Regions from separate parts of the Homo sapiens genome. Here all the other regions are linked to region 7. Evidence: promoter capture Hi-C in 16 types of primary human blood cells and fetal thymus (Javierre and others, 2016). All regions are on one chromosome and are shown on one strand. The core of a region is centred on a gene start or on the middle of the fragment in contact, and the rest is flanking DNA. Distances in the headings are between cores, read along the strand shown.

What was found. Contacts are between HindIII fragments. The CHiCAGO score rates a contact against its expected background, and 5 or more counts as called.
Region 1: a contact is called between a fragment that was not itself captured here and the fragment with the promoter of BCKDHB in region 7, in 1 of 17 cell types (erythroblasts). The highest score is 5.0, in erythroblasts.
Region 2: a fragment that was not itself captured here is called in contact with the fragment with the promoter of BCKDHB in region 7 in 4 of 17 cell types (total B cells, neutrophils, naive B cells and 1 more); the score reaches 7.0 in total B cells.
Region 3: a fragment that was not itself captured here is called in contact with the fragment with the promoter of BCKDHB in region 7 in 1 of 17 cell types (monocytes); the score reaches 11.8 in monocytes.
Region 4: a fragment that was not itself captured here is called in contact with the fragment with the promoter of BCKDHB in region 7 in 1 of 17 cell types (neutrophils); the score reaches 6.9 in neutrophils.
Region 5: a contact is called between a fragment that was not itself captured here and the fragment with the promoter of BCKDHB in region 7, in 2 of 17 cell types (neutrophils and naive CD4 T cells). The highest score is 11.2, in neutrophils.
Region 6: a contact is called between a fragment that was not itself captured here and the fragment with the promoter of BCKDHB in region 7, in 1 of 17 cell types (neutrophils). The highest score is 5.5, in neutrophils.

The regions. Positions count from the first base shown.
Region 1 is chr6:81,986,458-81,989,347 of GRCh38, forward strand. All of the region lies in intron 3 of LINC02542 (long intergenic non-protein coding RNA 2542), which reads right to left. Among named protein-coding and RNA genes, the nearest start is that of LINC02542, 110 kb to the right of the region's middle. RefSeq lists a silencer at 2,242-2,442. The HindIII fragment of the contact is 4,309 bases long and covers 1-2,890 here.
Region 2 is chr6:81,818,996-81,821,964 of GRCh38, forward strand. No RefSeq gene overlaps it. Among named protein-coding and RNA genes, the nearest start is that of LINC01526, 6.3 kb to the left of the region's middle. The HindIII fragment of the contact is 2,252 bases long and covers 249-2,500 here.
Region 3 is chr6:81,966,170-81,969,272 of GRCh38, forward strand. The region is part of intron 3 of LINC02542 (long intergenic non-protein coding RNA 2542); the gene reads right to left. Among named protein-coding and RNA genes, the nearest start is that of LINC02542, 130 kb to the right of the region's middle. The HindIII fragment of the contact is 502 bases long and covers 1,046-1,547 here.
Region 4 is chr6:82,050,145-82,053,187 of GRCh38, forward strand. The region is part of intron 3 of LINC02542 (long intergenic non-protein coding RNA 2542); the gene reads right to left. The region is part of intron 2 of LOC107986617 (a long non-coding RNA gene); the gene reads left to right. Among named protein-coding and RNA genes, the nearest start is that of LINC02542, 50 kb to the right of the region's middle. The HindIII fragment of the contact is 1,923 bases long and covers 448-2,370 here.
Region 5 is chr6:81,777,853-81,780,693 of GRCh38, forward strand. No RefSeq gene overlaps it. Among named protein-coding and RNA genes, the nearest start is that of TENT5A, 27 kb to the left of the region's middle. The HindIII fragment of the contact is 3,644 bases long and covers 1-2,841 here.
Region 6 is chr6:82,025,442-82,028,329 of GRCh38, forward strand. The region is part of intron 3 of LINC02542 (long intergenic non-protein coding RNA 2542); the gene reads right to left. The region is part of intron 2 of LOC107986617 (a long non-coding RNA gene); the gene reads left to right. Among named protein-coding and RNA genes, the nearest start is that of LINC02542, 75 kb to the right of the region's middle. The HindIII fragment of the contact is 2,805 bases long and covers 134-2,888 here.
Region 7 is chr6:80,105,270-80,108,104 of GRCh38, forward strand. It overlaps BCKDHB (branched chain keto acid dehydrogenase E1 subunit beta), which reads left to right and starts at 1,402. Exons shown (of 10, transcript NM_183050.4): 1 at 1,402-1,620. The coding sequence starts at 1,425. RefSeq lists enhancers at 1,198-1,698, 1,665-1,744 and silencers at 1,285-1,484, 1,515-1,614. The HindIII fragment of the contact is 20,612 bases long and covers 919-2,835 here.

The DNA of each region.
Region 1 (2,890 bases), core at 198-2,697, 1.9 Mb after region 7:
TCTGGGATACACGTGCAGGATGTGCAAGTTTGTTACATAGGTAAAAGTGTGCTATAGTGGTTTGCTGAACAGATCATCCCATCACCTACGTGTTAAGCCCAGCATCTATCAGCTGTTCTTCCTGATGCTCTCCCTCCCGCAACCCTACCTCTGATGGGCCCCAGTGTGTATTTTCCCCACTTCCATATGTTAATGTGTTCTCATCATTCAGCTCCCACTTATAAGTGAGAACATGCAGTGTTTGGTTTTCTGTTCCTGTGTCAGTTTACTGAGGAGCATGGCTTCTAAGTCTATCCATGTCCTTGCAAAGGGCATGATCTTGTTCCTTTTTATGGCTGCATAGTATTCCATGGTATATATGCACCACATTTTCTTTACCCAGTCTATCATTGATGGGCATTTAGGTTGATTCCATACCCTCGCTATTGTGAATAACGCTGCAATGAACATACATGTGCATATATCTTTATAATAGAATGGCTTATATTCTTCTGGGGATATACCCAGTAAAGAGACTTTCATCAAACACCACTCTCCCCAAGGATAGATCATAATCAATGCCTCAGCTAACTTCTTTCTAAATCCTCCTATTCCTTAGATTCTACTTAGTTCCCTTAATAAATATGAAATCTAAAGCCCCTTAACTCCCTTAATAAAATAACGGTACTATTATGCTTTATCTCAACCCATCCCAACTGAGCTTAGCAAGTGTCAGGAATAGTGACACAATCAATAACCCAACAACTGTGGAACTTTATAATCCAAATCCCCCACGAAAATAAATGGATATTATTTGACCCAAATTGTGTTTTAATCAAATCTTTCAGCGACTAAATATTGTTTCTCAGAATACAGCAATATGGAGAGTGATGTGATTTGGCTGTGCCTCCACCCAAATCTCATCTTGAATTCCCATGTGTTGTGGGAGGGACCCGATGGAGGGTAGTTGAATCATGGGGCAGGTCTTTCCTGTGCTGTTCTTGTGGTGGTGAATGAGTCTCACAGGATTCAATGATGTATAAGGGGGAGTTTTCCTGCACAAGATCTCTTATCTTGTCTGTCGCCATGTGAGACATGCCTTTCACCTTCCACCATGATTGTGAAACCTCCCCAGCTTCTGAAAGTCCATTAAATGTCTTTCTTTTGTAAATTGCCCAGTCTCAGGTATGTCTTTATCAGCAGCGTGAAAATGAACTAATACAGAAAGTAAATGAAAATATTTAAATCTCTGAAGTATTCATGAAAACAATTTTGCCATTTCCAAACGGTCAGGCCCCTTTAAAATCCAAGCTAACAGAAAAAATAATAATTTAATACACATCAAAGTTCAGCCAACATCACAAAGGGAGTCTTCAAACTCTTGAATTGATATAAGAAGATCATATTTCTTTGGTACTTTTCCAGTTTCCAGAAGACAGTAGTATGATGAGTCTTAATTTCTATATATTGATTGACAAGATACACTTTTGTGTGTGAAATCAGTGTAATAAATAACCGAACATTATATCCTCCAAATATTCATTAGGCAATAGCACAATGCTGGTAGGTAATATACTTTATCTTGGACTGTTCATCCAAGTTTAAATCTAAATTTATTAGATTATTCTGCACATATTCTTTCCAGGTCTTTCTCTGCAAAGTGGATAAAAAATGGAGCACAGTTTCTTAAGCTAATTCATCTTCATAACTTCACCATATTAAATGCAATCTCTGTGATAAATTGAAATGTAATTTCACATACATTTTTAAGGGGTTAATATTATTAAATGTGTAAACTCAGTTCACCGCAATATCTTCACCTGGAAATACTAAAATGTGAAATGATTTCCTAAAACTTAATATGAACTTCATTGACACTGCTGGAAATGTGTTGCCACATACTTATTAGAGCAAGCAATATTATAGGCCTAAGCCGACTAGGGTGGAATGACAATTTCTACTACTATGACTTGAGATTAATAATGATGAAAATAATTGACAACTTTTTATTCAAAATCATCTGTGGGAAAAACAAATTCTTTTAAATATATATATAAGATAGAAAATAGGCTGAAACCAATCTTGACCATATCTCTTCTGGGAGAATAAAGTTGGCTCTCCTATGTCTTGATTTGACAATACGTGTAGACAAAAACACAGTCTCCTTTTTTCCCTTGAGCAAACTCCCCCAAAGCTATCAAATTCATTTTAACTTAAATCACTCAATGACTCATAAAGTTCATATCTGTTTCAAAAAGATAGCTCTGAAAAGAAGGCTCAATAACAAGTGACAACAATCAGTAAAAATATTTTGGCAAATTGTTGCCCATGGTAAGACTTTTTTAAAGAAATGATAAAAACATACATATCCATTGAAAACTAGACAATCTTTGGGATATCTCACCTGAGTGTCAGTGTAACAAACATGCCAAGCACCAAGAAAGTCCAAACAGAAAACTTTCCACATACTCAGTTGTTATTTGCTGGATTATAAAACTATATGGCTTATGTATAAATAAATATATAACAGTAGAAATCCCCTCATTATTTCAAGTATTCCAAAGACTACTAGGAGAATTATGATAATCTGGTGATCTTAAGCACTAAAAAAAAATGTTGGGTAATTCGAGTAAACAAAAGTATTAAGGAGATCGCTAGCATTTTGATTGCTTCACAGTATAGAATGAGTACTTCATATTTTGTAGATTCCAAAAAACCTCAGAGTTGAGACAGAAAAATCTACGACTGTAATATGTGATCAATTTTATAAAAATAAAAATATCCCCAAGAAAAGATATTTTGTTATAGATTTATTTAGCATCTGACCAATATGTGTAAGTATTCCCAACCCAGTTTAAGCAACTAATCCTAAAAGAGATTGTTAAGTATAACTTCCTGCCTGACAAAAAAA
Region 2 (2,969 bases), core at 125-2,624, 1.7 Mb after region 7:
TGATTTCACTCACGCTACTCCCTTAGCCTGAAGAAAACAGACAAATTCAGACAGAGAAAACAGTGCAAACTCAAGTCTCCTCTGTTCAGCTCAAATTGCCTTGTGTTCACATGATCCCATCTCACCCACCTCCCTCACAACTGCAAGATGTCATGGGACAAGTGTAAGCCTTAGAGGAAAAACTGAACTTATCACAGGATCATCATTTCACAGCCATGTTAACTTGAATCAGTCCCTTAAACTGTATAAGCTTCTGTTTCTCTAAGTGAAAAATGAGCAGGCAGCCAGGCATCCTGGCTCTAGCAATAGACTCCTTGGGTCATATCACAGCTCTGCTACTTTTAGCTGGGTGAAAGGGCAAATTCATGTCTCCAAGCCTTGAAGTCTTCCTTGATGAAAGTATGAATAATGAGGCCCACTTCATAAGGTTGCTGTACAGATTTGATGAGATGTAAAACCCTGATACACTGCCTGGCACATAGGAAGCCCTCGATTCAGGTCAATTATTACAATTATTATTATGGGGTCACTGTAAATACCCATGAGCTAATGTCCATGTCCTGGACAGCCTCTGTTTGTCCCTCTATATCCACTCTGCCCCAGCCTTCTTCCCCCAACTCGGGCCCCATGAAGCTCAGTTGGAGGGCCTCCATCAACGCTCCTTCATCCTTGGGCTTCTGTTTGCGCAAATGGAGGCACTAGCAGGAGATGTGCTCCCTCCCTGGGAAGGTCCGTGGTTCCTGTCAAATGACTTTCTCCACAGGATGCCCTACGCACTGTATATATTGTCTGGGGACGAGTAACCAGTCCCTCCTCTTGGTAGTGATGTCCTGCTATTACTAGCTCTGGGATATTATATTATCTTGGTTTTGCTTCACTGTGGTGACTCCCTTATAAATAGTTTCTTTATTGAACTCTACTCTATGTGAGCATGCGAACTGCTTCCTGACTGACACCCAGTTGATAGAGTGTACATTAGAGTACTTTGTGAAGTTACAACACACACCTTTCACCTATGTGCTTATTTGTCCCTACATCCCTAGCAACTGGCAGCGTCAAGCACATGAGGAAAAAAAAAAAAAACAAAACAAAAAAACACTGGGTTGGGCGCGTTGGGTCACACCTGTAATCTCAGCCCTTTGGGAAGGTAGATCTCTTGAGTCCAGGAGCTTGAGACCAGCCTGGGCAACATGGTGAAACCCCGTCTATACAAAAAAAAAAAAAAAAAAATACGAAAATTAGTGGGCAGCATGGTGGTGCACATCTGTAGTCCCAGCTACTTGAGAGGCTGAGGTGGGAGGATGTCTTGAGCCTAGGAGGCAGAAGTTGTAAAGAGTTGAGATCACACCTTTGCACTCCAACCTGGGTGACAGTGCAAAACACTGTCTCAAAAAAAAAAAAAAAACACTGTTCAAGTTTTTAAAAAATACACTGCCTTGAATGTGTCCTCCAAAACTCATGCTGAAATTTAATTGTCATTGTGGCAGTATTAAGAGGTGGGATCTTTTAAAGGTGATACAGTCTTAAAGACTCTGCCCTCATGAATGGATTAATCACAGAAATGGGTTTGTTATCATGAGGGTTCAGCCCCTACTCTCCCTGAGTCTCGCTTGCTGGCTTGTTCTTCCTTTCACTTTGCACCATGGGATAACCCTTGCCAGATGTCCGGCACCATTATCATGGACTTTCCAGCTTCCAGAACAATTAGTCAAATAATATATTTTCTTTATAAACTGCCCAGTCTGTAGTATTCTGTTACAGCAGCAGAAAATAGTCTGAAACAAAAAGAGACTGACTTTTTATAGAATGACACTTTTCCCTTTTATGAGGCATCCTTTGCTAAGCCTTCTATAAAATATATTAGCATTTCTTATCAGCATCAATGGACAAAACTCGTTACCAGGTGCCAAGCACTTCTATCAAGAGTACATCTTAGACCCCGTGGAGAACTGGAACTGCCTCCACTTCTCCACAAGACTTTTCGTCTGCAACCTCCCTTCATCAGTCTCTTTCTGTAAGCTCCCAGGTTAAAGTCTCTTTGCTATTTTCATTTGTTTGCTTGAAGCATAGTTTGTTGCCAGCTGTTAGCTGTAGTGCAGTAACCCATTTAAAGTCCTACCATACTTCCTTCTAGAGATAATTGATGCTAATGAGGCATAAAATAATCCATTTGAATAACTGGTAGAGAAGTTTCAGTTTCAATTCAGTTTCTTTTCATGGAAAATAAAACTTCACAACTTGATCATGTGTGAAAGCAAAGTCGGCTATTTCAAAGAAAGGAACTGATTAAAAAGAAAACACTCACACACACACACACCCCATAACCTGTTGACACTAAACTATCTGAACACAGAAGGCATTTGGGCCAAGGCAGAGTAATTGAGATTTGTGCTTACTTTTCCCTTGGTCTTGCCCTAATGGGTTCATGAGGATTGTCTATAATGAACAAATAATAATTCTGATAAATGAGTTTATTGGTTAATTCATAAAACATATGGCAAGCTTCCTCTGCCACAGTATTTGGGCAAAGGAAAAGCAAATGAAGATCAAGAATAAACAAATGATATGACACAAAAACAATGTTTTGAAGTAGACCAGAAAAGTCAACTAATTAGGGTTTTATTGATCTAGAAAAGGGGAAATCCCAGTTCTATTCTAGGCACATTTGCACATACCTAAGTGTCAAAATGGAGATGAAAACTGTGTTTTCATTAAAACTCAGTGGGTGTGGGCCCTAATTCTCACATTCTTCTGTAGGTTATCACAAGCTTGCTCTGTAGACTTTATGTTGCAAAATAATGAATACTATACAAAAGGAGCAGTTACCTTCCTCATATTAGCCTGGATAAGAATGACAGTGCTGTAATATTAAACGACCCCCAAAATCACAATTTTAACTTAATAAAATCTTATTTCTGCCTCCCATAGTGTATACTGCTAGTCCAGGTGATTGTCCAGGATAGGCTTTT
Region 3 (3,103 bases), core at 47-2,546, 1.9 Mb after region 7:
CCAAGATAGAATGCTCATAGTTTTATTTTCTATTCTGATGAAGACTAGGTGAGGTTTACATTATTACATTAAAAAAAGAGAGATGACTTACCTTTTACTATCCTCATAATGAATTTTATGTACATTATACCTGTCATATCAGGGTTATTGGTTTTTTTGTTTGGTTGGTTTTCTTCCTTTAGGGAAGTTACAGAAACTTGTTTTTCTTCTATTCCTTCCCTGGTGATACAATATACAATATTATGGGAGTGGAATATTCTAGACCAAAGGCAGATCTACATGAAATATTATGGCATGTGAAAGACATTGCAAGTTATTTCCTGGGGGTCTAACAAGAGATGAATAAACACTCCTGAACACTTATTATGGCCAGGCACTAGGATGAACCCTTTATTTATATCATTTCATAGTCTCAATAATAACCCTAAAGTTGATGCTATTACAAGGCTTATTTAATAAAACCAAAGAAGTTAAATAACTTGCCCAAGATCAAACAACTAGCAAACAACAGAGTCAGGATTCAAATAAGGAATTAAATTCCACAGCCCAGGTTCCTAAGTGCTTGGCTACACTGCCTCCTCATGAATGCTGTGCATCAAGATCTGACGTGCATCAAGATCTGAGCTATATCCCTTAGGTCTCTATTTCTCCAACTATAGCATATGAGTCAGAAATACATAAAGCCAGAGAATATATGTAGCCATTTGCCCAGTAAATCAATGGTACTGAAAGACCTATGAGGGAAAATTTTACTCAGATAGGTGAGAAGATGTTAAACAGTGAGAATTTTCAAACATAGGAAAAAGAAATAAAGATACACTGTAGATTAATATGCAAAACTTTATAAATTATAAAGGTAAATCATGAAATTTTGGAAAAATGCCACGGTTGTGGTCACCATTTTAGCTTATGATCTCTTTCCTCCAAGCTTACTCTTTTGTGTGTGTGTGTGCATTCACATATATTTTTTGAAATATTGCCTTAGGCACGAGAGCCATGGAGTGTTGCAACAGGGATGCATTGTGGCCAGGTTTACATTTTGGAAAGCTTCTAACAGGTGAGAGAGGAACACAAGGAAACAATCACACTTCCCTGGTAGAATGAACACTGATTTCACTTACAAGATAAGAGTGAGTTTGAGGAGCCTGGGGATCCTCCAAGTGGCATGACTATGAAGAAAACTGGAACTCAGAAGAGAGGTCTTCCACAAAAACCTTGTATCATATTTTATACTAACATCATTCAAAACTATGTTCCCACCTATTTCACAGAACAGTGTTTGGGGCAGAGTAGCTACCCCAAAACCATTTGTTGAATGAATGAAGTGGAAAATAGAGGGCATATACTAATAATGTAATTAAGAGAATCCATTAATGCTACACTGCAAAAAAAAATGTTCAGAATTAAAGGACCTTTTGTATCTTTATATGTGCATATGAATGTCAAACATTTTATAAGGTTCATAGGATATAGTGACGTTTATCCCTTCAAGAAAATGACTTTTAAAGAGGAGAAAGTTCCCACATAGTCCTGCTGCATTTAAAAGAAGCTTTAGATTTTAACATGCCGATCATTTGTTATTTCTATAATGTGGAGACTTTACTAAAGGTAAATGTTTATAAAGAGCTTTTAAATAAATCCTTCTGTCTTAGGAAATTATTGTCTCTTTACTAATCTGTGAGAAGATTTTTGGCTGCCACTGCCATGTACTTCTGCCAAAATTGTATATGTGTATATATATACACACACACATATATATGTAATTATTTTATATGTAGGATTTATATATGTGTGTGTATATATATATACTTGTATACATATATGTATGCATATATTGCAGTGTGTGTGTGTGTGTGTGTGTGTGTATATATATATCAGAATATGGTCTCTTTTCTTCCAATATGACCTCTGTAATATAACAAATTGTTTAAATGTTGATTTTGCCTCAGTAATTTCTCCCAGTGGCTTCATTAGTTTTTCCATGTTTTAAGAACTCTATAGCTACATTTCCTAAGAGACATTTATTTCTGTGTTTCCTAGTTATAGGTTTATAGATTACTAGGAGTTCTGGGTCACTGTGTTACTATAAGATTGAGTTCCAACTTTATGACTCATTTTCTAAAAATCAATTTTCTCAAGCCACTGTCCATTTAATTTCATTGGCCATGATTATTTTGAAATAAATGCATATATGCCTATAGATGATACTTTAGAAACTATTATTGGCTTAGGTTTTACATTGAGCTCCATTTTAATGTTCAAATTGTGTTTTATAGTATTTGCTTCCTTTAAATGTGTTTTTATTGAGAAAATAAAATTTTATTTTGCATTAAACTTACCATTAAAAAGATGAATGTCAGTATAGTATGACTAAACACTGCCACTATTAAATCTTAGAGGTCTTAGTTTGCCTTTGCTTCTTTAACTAGCTATGTGTGGTTGTAGAACATGAACTAGCCTGTCATGATTCCCATTCTAGGCAACGAAATTAGAAGTGTGCATTATGACAGTGTTCTGTGACTTCCTTCTCCTGACCCCAACTTCTAACCATCTTCCCATTCCCAGTACTTTCATTATGCTTCCTGGAGCCCTCAATCCCTAGCCTTGCCACTAAACTCACTCCACCTTCTTGCCTTAATTAAAGCTTTTCTCTATCTGAGGACACTGCTTCTCCAGCAGTCTCACCAAGTGAAGAATGTGGCTGTCAACAACCCTTGGTATCTCAGAATAAGGAAGCAGAGTTCAGATCGTCTTCACCTAGCAGTGCTTCAAACCAGTCCTCATCACCACCAATCCTCATGCAAAATCCTTCCATCCTTGAAGGTTCAAGTTATCCAGACATACCACATTCCACCCTCCCTTGTACCCAGAGTGTCTGCTGATTCCATGGACAATTTTCTCATGTTCACTAAACACTTCTGCACATAACTGTAGTCTTTCTCTCCATGCAACTTCCTACCATCATTCAGGATGACATCCTGTCCATGCAATACCCAAGTTTCATAATTCTTGACCTTCTCATCTTCAGTTACTTCTCCATTTTATTTCAGCCACCATAGCATCACTCCTCCACCTCTGAAAACCTAAGTTCAGCCATCTCATT
Region 4 (3,043 bases), core at 159-2,658, 1.9 Mb after region 7:
GGAAAAATGACCTTCCTACTTCTGCTCTTTCTCAAATGCCCAATGTTTTGGGGTAGCTCATCAGTACCATATTTATTTAACTACCTACCTATTTTTGGGCATTTGTTTCCAATATTTTGTGAACATATGTTTTCATTTCTCCTGGTTAAATACCTAAGAGTGGTATTGCTGGGTCATAGCATAGGCATATGTTTAATTTATTTTAAAAATAGCAGTTTTCTGAAGTGGTCATACCATTTTATACTCTTATCAGGAATGTATGATAGTCCATAATGTTTCATACCATGGCCAACATTTAGTGCAGTCAGTCTTTTCAATTTCGATTATTCTAGTTGGTGTGGAATATTTTCTATGGTATCCTTTTGTGGGTAAAATTCACTTCCCCCAAGACAATGTTGAGCACCTATCCTTCTGCATAATGGTTATTTGCATTGAAATGTTGGTTCAAGCTTTGTTCATTTTTGAATGGGTTGACTTTTTGTTATTGATTTGTAGGAGTTTTTATATTTACAAATTTCAAATATATGTATTGAAAATATACTTTCCAAATCTATGGATTTTCTTTTTATTTTTATTTATTTCTATTTTTTGAGATGGAGTCTCTGTCACCCAGGCTGGTGTGCAGTGGCACAATCTCGGCTCACTGCAACCTCCACCTCCTGGGCTCAGGTAATCCCTCCACCTCAGCCTCCCAAGTAGTTGGGATTACAGGCATGTGCCACCATGCCCAGCTAATTTTTGTATTTTTAGTAGAGCCAGGGTTTCACTGTGTTGGCCAGGCTCGTCTCAAACTCCTGGCCTCAAGTGATCCACCAGCCTCAGCCTCCCAAAGTGCTGGGATTACAGGCGTGAGCCACTGTGCGCAGCCTGCCTTTTTATTTCTTAATGGCGTCTTTAGATATTAAAAAGTTAATATTTATGAAGTTGATTTTTTAATTTCTTTTATAATTAGTGCTTTTTCTATACTATTTAAGAAATCTTTACTCCAAATTTGCAAAGATATTCTCTTATGTGTTTTAGAAACTTTTTAATTTTAACTTTTTTGTTTAGATCTATAATTTATCTCAAATTAATTTTTGAGTATGCATGAGGTAGTGTTAATACCCTTTTTTTCATAAAATTAAACAGTCTAGTACCATTTGTTGAAAAGACTTTTCTTTTCCCTTTAAATGGCCTTGATCCCTTTGGAAAAAATCAGTTTACCATGTATATATAGGTCTACTTTTGCACTCTCTATTCTGTTCTAGCTCTCTGTCTATGTTGATACCAATTTCAAGATGTCTTAAGCAATACAGCCTAATAGTGTAGTCATTCCTTGATCTGCAGGGGAGGAATTCCAGGACACCCTGTAGATACCAAAATCTGCAGATGCTCAAGTCTTTTACATAAAATAACATAGTATTTGCATATAACCTACACACATCCTCTCATATACTTCTCATATACTTTAAATCATCTCTAGATTACTTATAATAATACAATGTAAATGCTATGTAAATAGTTGATATACTGTATTGTTTTTAAATTTGCATTATCTTTATTGTGGTATTGTTATTTTTATTGTTTTTTTCAAATGTTTCCTGTGTTGGTTGAACCTACAGATGCAAAACCCACAGATATGAGCTGACTGTCTTTTGAAATTAGGTACAATGAAGCCTCTAACATTGTTCTTTTACAAGATTGTTTTGGCTATTCTAGAGCCTCTTATTTCCCATATAAATTTGGAATCAGTTTTTTTTAATGTCTACATTTTAAACATGTAGAACCAACATTTTGGTTGAAATTGGATTCAATCTATATTTAAATTTGTGGAGAATTAATATCTCAATAATAGTGAATTTTCAATCCATAAATGTTCTATATCTCTTATTAAGTCTTCTTTAATTTCTTTCAACAATGTAGTTTTCCATGTTGAGGTCTTGTATACATTTTGTTTAAATTATTCTTGAGAATGTTATGTTTTGAGTGCTTTAAGGATAAAAATGTTTTCTTGTTTTGTTTTTTAATTGTTTGTGACTAACATATAGAAATAATCTTTTAATATTGATCTTGTATACTGAGTCCTTCCTAAATTCACTTCTCAGTTCCAGTGGTTCTTCTGTAGATTCTTTAGGATTTTCTAAGTAAACAATGATTTCTCCTGTGAATATAAATAGAAGAAAAATAACTTCTCCCTATCTGATCTTTGTGACTTTTTCTTGTCTTTTTGCACTGACTAGTGCCTCAAGTACAAATGGAATGGTAAAAACAAACACTCTTGTTTCCAATCTTAAAAGGAAAGCATTCAATTTCACAACTAAATATAAGCTGTTGATTTTTAGTGAGTCCTCTTTATGAGATTGAGAAAATTTCTATCTTTAACTTGCTGAAAGCTTTTAATCATAAATGGATGTTGAATATTGTGAAGTGTTTTGTCTGCACCTATTGAAATGAATATATGATTTTTCTCCTTTTCTTAATGGTGAACTATGTTGACTGACTTTAAAATTTTAAACAAACCCTTTTATTCCTTGAAAACAAACACCTGATCATGATATAGTCATACACACAGACACACACACAAACATACACACACACACACACACACACAACAACAAACATACTGCTGAATCGTATTTCCTATTATTTTGTGAAGGATTTCTATGTCTGTGTGCAGGGAAGATATTTGACTATAATTTTCTTTGTGTGCAATGTTTTTGTCTGGCTACATTATCAGGGTAATATTGGCCTCATAGAATAATATAGAAAGTATTCCTTTCAGCTCTATTTTCCAAAAGAATTTGTGAAAAGTTGGCAATATTTATTTCTTAAGTTGTTAATAGATTTTGCCAGTGAAACTATCTGGATGTATAGATTCTTTGTGAGGTTTTTGGTAACAAATTCAATTTATTTTATAGAACTATTTATATTTTCCATTTCTTCTCATGTTAGTTTGATAAATTGCATTTTGAAGAAATGTTTCTGTTTTATCTAAGTTGTCAAATGTTACTGGTTTAATGCTGTTCATAATATTTCTTCTCAGATTATAACAGTCCTTTTAGAA
Region 5 (2,841 bases), core at 274-2,773, 1.7 Mb after region 7:
GAATATGTCAAAAGGAGTTGGCATTTGTGAGGGCACTCACACTATACAGCCCCAGCAGGCAGACTTCAGCAGGCACAACTTCCCCTGCATGCCCAGGCTTTCTGGCATCCCCTTCCCACTCCTTCCAGTGGACTCTGGGGCTAGTTGGGTTAGATTCTGATAGAACAGAGATCATTTGGCCTGCCTGTAGATCAGAGAGAATAGCTTTGGGAACCTGGAATGGCAAAAATTTATACACCGCAGCAATGTGGTAAGGACAAAGACAATGTGAGCTCTGTTACTGTCACCAGATGCCAATCACCCTTCCCTACTTGAAGGAGAGTTTTAACTTCAGGACTGGCTTTTCAGATTTTTCCTTTTCATCTCACATAAAATTTGTTACTACTCACCTTCTTGCTTTTAACTGATATTTAGTATATAATTGAATTAAGCCAGACATCAGGATCCTAAAGTGTTTCTCACAGAGTTTTGTTTGTTTGTTTGTTTTGTTTTCTATTTGCAAACACCAGTCTTCATTGCCCCCAAATAAAACAATTTAGGAGGCTATTTAAAATAGATTTTCCAGGACATCATATGTGGCAAGAACTTTGAGAATTCCTAGATATTATGTGAAAATGTGCTTTATGCCCCAGTGCACAGGATAAAAAGTCCACAAGGCTGCCCAAAGCCACGTCTTCTACACTCCCCTTTAGGATGGAGCCTGATCCTCTAAAGACTGGACTAAGAGCAGAGATGAAGACTACAGAGGAAAATGAATGCTAAGGGTTTGGGGGACTTATAGGAATGTAAGGATAGTAAAGGGACCATGATTCAGAGCTCCCTGGAAGTTACTTATTTCCATCCTTTCTTTCACCCTTTCTCCTTCCCCTCTATTCACATTATTTGTTGTGGAAACAGTAAAAGATTTGAAATTTGGGTTAAAAATCCTGGCTTCACCATTTCCTACTTGCTAGAGTCTTTCTTGCTTATAAAATGGGAATGATATTCACTTCACAGGTTGTGAGGATTATGTGAGGGAACATTTGCGAAATGGAGAATAATAGCCTGACATGTAGTAAACACTCACCAATTAGAGCCACTTCTACTCCACTTGTTCAGATGATGCTAGAAACTCCTTTAATTACAAAGAAAAAGCATTTCAATTAGAGATTAAAAAGTGAGTAAAATTCAATTTGATGTATCAATACAGTCTATACCAGATTTTGATGAGACTTGGAGCTAAGGCCCAACTGATTTTGGAGATTTCTAACAAAAAATGCTTTAGTATTTTAAAATGTATTATTACTTTTAAAGACTTGTTATCTCATTAGTAAATGATAAATAAATGGTAAGTTATCTCATTTCTAAATGGTAAATTATCAGAAGGAAAATAGGAGGCAGAATAAAAACGAGGCAGATGAATTATCGCCAATGTTTATTGAGTTCTTATCCTTGTCAGGCACTGTTCTAAGAGTTTTTTACATGTGAATCCATCCAACAACGCTCTGATGTAAGATACTCATTGTCTTAATCATACAGGCAACGAAACTAACTTTCCCAAGATCACAAAACTATAAATAATAGGTCTAGATTCAAGCCCAGGCATTCTGGATCCAGAGCACACACTTAGCCTCTTCACCACTTGCTTAGTCCTTAGTTTCTAGATATTGACTAATCAACAAAATGAAATCATTATCCCAGGATTATTTTATTCAATTTAAAAGTCTTCTTTTGGTAACCAGCAGCCCTTAGTTTAAATATATACAGCATAGCACACACACACACACACACACACACACACACATAAACACAGTTGGCAATTGTCTTGTTTATTCATAATCATATTATTTTTAAGATACACAATATAGGAACCAAGTAGTAAACCCTCTGATTTTACTGACAGAAATTAGGAGACATGACTAAAGTACTAAAGTCATCCAGTTAATTTGTAAGAAAATCATTATTAAAAGTTGGGGTTCTTATCTTCCAGTTCAGAGCCCTTTGCTCTATTTTACTGTCTTATAGTAATGACAACATTGAGGACTCACTGTGTGCTCTGTTAAGCTGTAGATTAAAGTTATCCTATATAATCTTTCCAAAAATCCTATTCGATGTTTTTATACTCATTTTACAGATAAGCAAACTTATATGGCCTATGTATGTATAAGCCAGTCCATGTTATTAACTTTCACATTAATAGCATTGCATGCACCAGATTTATTAGTTAATTTAAATAAATAGACAACCCAAGGGCTTTATATTATTTTTGGGTTATTTCATTTAGCACTCTTGTCACTTCTCTGAGTAGTACCCATCTCTGTGTAAGACTACATTGAGAACATTAGTATTCTATGCTACCTATTAGTCTTATTTACATAAAAACAAGGAATAAAAGCAAAAAGTTCCACAGGCTAAAGAGCCTCTCTTCTAAATAAAAATCAGTTGGTAGGCCAGGCATGGTGGCTCATGCCTGTAATACCAGCACTTTGGGAGGCCGGGGCAGGCGGATCACAAAGTCAGGAGATCAAGACCATACTGGCTAAAATGGTGAAACCCCATCTCTACTAAAAATACAAAAAATTAGCCAGGCGTGGTGGCGGGTGCCTGTAGTCCCAGCTACTCGGGAGGCTGAGGCAGGAGAATGGCTTGATCCCGGGAGGCGGAGCTTGCAGTGAGCCGAGATCGTGCCACTGCACTCCAGCCTAGGTGATAGAGCAAGACTCCATCTCAAAAAAAAAAAAAAAAAAAAAATCATCCTTTGGTAAAAGCATTAGAACTTATTTTCTGTTTTATGATTTCTTTCAAGAGCCTTCGTTATTTAGAAAGCAAATGTTAGAAGAGCTGAACTTCCTCTGTGTGTGC
Region 6 (2,888 bases), core at 286-2,785, 1.9 Mb after region 7:
CAAGCAATGAAAACCAGCTTTGACAACTTAAGCTGAAAAGGAATTTGTGGTAAGGATATGAGGTAACTCACATAATTGAAGGGGAAACTAAAGACTTGGGCTTAAAAACAGACCTAGATGGAGTTCAGCACCAAGCTTGTAGGAACCGAAAGAAGTCTCATCAGGACCCAGCAACTTCAATAAATTGGCTGAAAATTATTTCAGCTCCTTGGTCAAACTGAAATTCCAGAAACTGAATATCATATTGGTCTCACTGGGACATATCATAATCCCATGGGTAAGGGAGACAGAAGGAGCATATGTCAATTGCTAATCCAAATCTGGCTGTATTAAAGAGGGAAAGGCTTGTGTCTCAAAGGCAAAGGAAGAAACAGTGAATAAGTGGGTACAAAATGACAAGTCTACCATGCTCCCATCTTTAAATTTAGGCTAAATCTCTCCCAGCTCCAATGACTGAACATTTCTACTTAAAGTTCTTAGCACATTGATAACTACTTGCTCCTCTTTAATTGGGTAGAAGTCTATCTTACAGATATCTTTCCTGCTGCATTTCTTACTCTGAACTAAAAATACGTGTTAGTCTCTCTCCTTCATGAGATTGTGAGCTCCTCCACTGTATCCCTTAGCATTAAGCATGGTGCCATGTATGCAGCAGGGGCTCAGTAAATGTTTGCTGCCTGCTGAATGACCCAAAACTACAGAATTGAGGGGAACTCTCGAGTTACAAATTATATTACTGTAAAGTAACATACAGTCACATAACAAGAGACTTGAACAAAAAGGACATTGAGGTTTTAATTGAAGCAGGTACAATATAAGCCAAGATATGTTTTATAAGCTGGTCAAAATGTGAATGTTATCTTGGTTCTATTGATAAAATATGGTGTACACAAAAGAAAGGAGTAGGTCTATAGTACCTAACACTAAACAGACTACATCTTTAGTATTGTCACAATTTCTTATCACGACATTATAAAGAGATTGAAAAGTCTGAAATGTTTGAAAACTATATTAAATGAAACATGTTAACTGAACAGGGAAAGTTTGCAATAGGAAAGAAAAGAACTAAGAGGTTTGATCACCACAGTTATACAGGAGAACCATGCAAAACAGAAAGCAAGAGTTATTCTGTATGACTACAGATAAAAATCAAGATGAATGGATAGAAGATAGATTCATCTTCTACTCTGGAAATGACAAATCATTTGTCACACAACATGTCCAGATTCAGGGCTCAGAAGCTGTAGTCAATGTGATGTTTGAAGGTGTGAGTGAGTGAAGTTTAACAGGACTAGAGATGTCAGAAGGGTTTGTATATGTGTACGTGTGTGAAAGAGAATAGAACCTTAGTGCAAGTGTTACAAATTAATATTCTAGAATAGGAAATATACCTCTTTGACTAAAACTATTAGGAAACAACTACAAATTGGCACAAATACAAATGCAAAGGAAACCTCTGGTACAATTTAGCAAGTCAAGAAATAAGAACTATGATGACTATAGTTAATAACAATGTATTACATTCTCTAAAATTGGTAAGAGAGTAAATTTTAAATGATTATCTTTTAAGTGTAAATTTAGCTAATTAACATATGCATTACCTCACCACAAAAAATGAGGTGACGCATATGTTAATTAGCTAAGTTATTCACTCCACAATATATACATATTTTAAAATGTGATGTTGTACATGATGAATCTACACAATTTTTATTTGACAATTTAAATAAATACATATTCTAAAATAAATAATAACTAAACAAATAACATTTGTGAATGTGCAGTAAACTGTCACTTTTCTCTATGAAAATAGTAAGTTCCCTAGGCTGTGAGTCTACAGAAATGAAATTTTGAAACTGTTGGTTTGGGTTTTTGAATAGAACAGTAAGTTTGAACAAAACAGAAGCACAATGATATGAATTCATAATGGGAGAAGTCAGCTGATATTCTACATTGTATGTTTACCAAAGTGGGATGGAGCTTCTCTGGTTGAAGTTTCCAGTCAACAGACAAAAAGGGAACAATGGAGCCCGGTTTTCGGGAGGGCCACAGGGATAGAGCTAGGGCTGATCCAGATAGAGCAGAGTACACATTAAAAAGAATATAAGACCCAAACTTTGGGGGGGTGAATGATATTTGGGAATTCTGTGATCTCTAAAAACTAATTTTAGAGAAGAGGGTTCAGTTAGGTGGAGGCTGTTGAGATGGACAGTGCAGCAGAAGGCATTTTCATTTACTTTAAGCTCCCCTGATGCTGGAGAAGTGCTTGCAATGACTTCAGCAATTCTCCTCTTTTTCGTTCAGTGAGTGTGTCTGTTTAGTGCTGATTAAAGATGGGAGCCTGACAAACACTCATTTTTAGTGAATTATTGGTAAAGAACTGTTTACCTTGGGTTTACACTGCATCTCCAGCTCTTATATTTGACCAGTCTAGTAATGATAATTAAGCATTGATAGTTAGCTGAACATTCTTGAATCAAGACGACTGGGGTTTTTTGTTGTTGTTGTTGTTGTTGTTTGTTTGTTTTGGTTGCTGTCAATCTCCTTCTCCTCCCTCAGCAGTTACAATTTGTATTCACCTGGGTCCCCATTAGTGAGTTATATTCCGCTAAGACTATAGAGACAACCTCTGCTCCACTGTCCATCTGAGTGCTGATCTGGCTAAGTCCTCATCTCTAACATTCATTTCTAGAGATCACAGAGCTGAGGCAGGAAAACTTAAAATGAATGAAAGTGCTCCAATTGACAATAAATGAAGAAGATGTGGGCTCAGAGTTAGAGAATTTCCTTGAATTGTTCTAAATTTATGCAGTTGGAAGGCTTTTAAAAGTGCCATCCTACTCAACCTTCTAAAAGTATAATTTTTCTTTTTAATAGAAAATTCACAT
Region 7 (2,835 bases), core at 152-2,651:
TAATCTCAGTACCCCCAGCTCCCTAAACTATCAACAAATAGAAAAAAAGCTCTATTCATTTTTATCCTTGTTCTTTACTCTCCTTAGTTTAAACCCAAATTTGACTATGTAAATGTAATTTCATTTTGTTACCCCTTCCTTCATTAAAACAAAAATACCCTTCATGCACATGCAAAACACTCTACCCCACACTATTAAAACAGCAGAAATGAACACTAACAAAAGCCAAGATAAAAAATTTCCCCAATGTTGAATTTTTGGACTTAGTGTGGGGGTAGGAAAAATGGAGACATAATTCTGGTTCTCCCTTTGGCAGTTTTCAATTGCTGTTTCTTAATCTCAGTCAGAAAACACATTTCTCTGCCTCTCCTTTTGCCCCATTTCTACCCTCTCCTCCCTTGCCCCTGTGCAAAACCAAAGATGGGTTAAGAGGCAAGGCATAATGGAAGAGGAATGTTCTTTTCCTCCACTCCCACTTTCTTCTTCAAATTCTGTTTTGGGACCATCCTTCCCCACCCTCCCATTTTCATCTGATGGACACACTGTCTCTGTTGTCTCTTGTCATATTTGATTTTATGATATTTCATGTTTTATGTGCTTTTTTTTTTTTTTAGTAAATTCATGGACAGAGAATGTATCCTGGTAAACACTTAGATTAAAACAAATTTACATAGTTGATTACTATAAATGAAAATTAGTGACTCAAATTCTCCAGGTTTCTAAGCTACTTAGACTAAGCCAATCAGGTAATTTTTGCTACTTCTGGGCAAAATGTATCTGAATTCCTATTCAGTGGATTTGCAGGATGAAATCTAAGTTTACCTCTTTCATCTCTCATTTAAATGTGGAAAAACGAAATCAATAAAAATCTATATATGCTTATTAAGCATTTTAAGGAGGGTGTGAATAAGGAGTGAAAGCTTTGAGCAGTGACTACAGCAGTTTTTCGAAAGTCAAAACAATAACCAATGCCAATCAGTAGCTCTCTTCACCTCTCACACAATAATAGAGACAGGACAGGATAAAAAAGGGTTACATTTAAAAAAAAGTATGGATGTTAAACCATTGGAAATGGCACTGTAAATGACACCGGAAAAGATCGCCTCCAGGCACTGTGTGGAACTTTGCAAACTCGGGTCCTCACCCGAGGACCGCACGGCCGACCTCGGGGAGGCTCCACCCCAGAAACTATTTCATTGGCGCCACCTCTAGCCCACACTTCCCCTCTTCCGCATGCGCACAAGGAGCAGAAGCCGACCAGCTCGTCACGTCGCCTTCCCCGCCCCTAAATTTCCAGTTCCGATTGGTCTGTTTCATGGGACCGCCCCTCTGGCCCGACCAATGTGGAAGCCTCCTCGGGTGCTCCGCCCTCCCCGCAGGCGGCGTGCGGCTGCATAGCCTGAGAATCCCGGTGGTGAGCGGGGATGGCGGTTGTAGCGGCGGCTGCCGGCTGGCTACTCAGGCTCAGGGCGGCAGGGGCTGAGGGGCACTGGCGTCGGCTTCCTGGCGCGGGGCTGGCGCGGGGCTTTTTGCACCCCGCCGCGACTGTCGAGGATGCGGCCCAGAGGCGGCAGGTGGCTCATTTTACTTTCCAGCCAGATCCGGAGCCCCGGGAGTACGGTGAGCCCTGGGACTGCCCACTCGGTCCCGCTGCAGCCCGGACTCCCAGGCTCGCAGGCGCCCGCGAGGGGCAGGGGCCGGCAGGCTGCAATCCTTGCATCCCAGCTTATTAACTTCCTGACTCTCTGGAACCTCCTTGCCTCAGGGTCTAACTGTGGTTCACTTCTTGCTCTATTTTTGTGACTGTTCAGCCCTCGAGACGCAGTCCCCCCTCCCCCGCAACTTTGAGATGGGTGAGAGGGCATACTGCCACCTGGAAGAGCCTGAGGGTGGAGGGGTGGTGCCCAGGGAACGCCTCCCTTTTCTCTGTCCTCCGTCCTTGCTTTCTCAACCCAGGCCTTAGGTGTTGTTCCAGCCTGGCCAGGACTGGGCCACTAGCTTAGGTAGAGGCATTTAAAAGATATATATATATGTTTATATATATATATTTTAAATGTATATTATATATATTATATATAAAATATATATATGTATATAAAATCAATTCAGTTACTCAGTCCCTTGGTTTCTTCTTACATACAGAAATTGTGTGTATGTGTGTGTGTGTGTGTGTGTGTATATATCCACACACATATATATATGTGTGGATATATATACGCGCATATATATGCATATATATGTGCGCATATATATATATATGCATATATATATATGCACACATATATATGCATATATATATGCATATATGTATATATGTCCCTTGGTTTCTTCTTACCTACAGAATTCTGAGTAATTGAACTGATTTTCCCAAGGTCACAGAACAGGTCCTTCCTAGAGATGTGAAAGAATTCAGACTTTCTACTTGAGCTTAGTACTGAGCTTGTCCTGGGCTATGCTGCCACTTAGCCAAGGAGGTGAAGGGGATGAGAGGAGGAAGCCATAGGAAGGGCATGTAGCAAACTCCTCATAGTATGACTGTTGCATGATTTTTACCATTTCTGCAAGTTTCATGTAATGTCTCTCATCAGAATATCAGATCCAGTGTCTCTCTTCAGAATATCAGGAAACTGTAGGGAAACATGTATTGCTTCCTTGTCTAATAACTTCTCATGTGCATGCTAGAGCTGACATTTTTGGAAGTGTGTCTTGTGGATAAGAATGAACAGTTATTGAGTGCTTACCAGGGTCAGGTGCTGTGTGTATGTTTCATCATCTCATTTAAGGGTTAGGACAACCTTAAAAGGTTAGTAAAGTTTTTATTCCCATTTTGCAGTT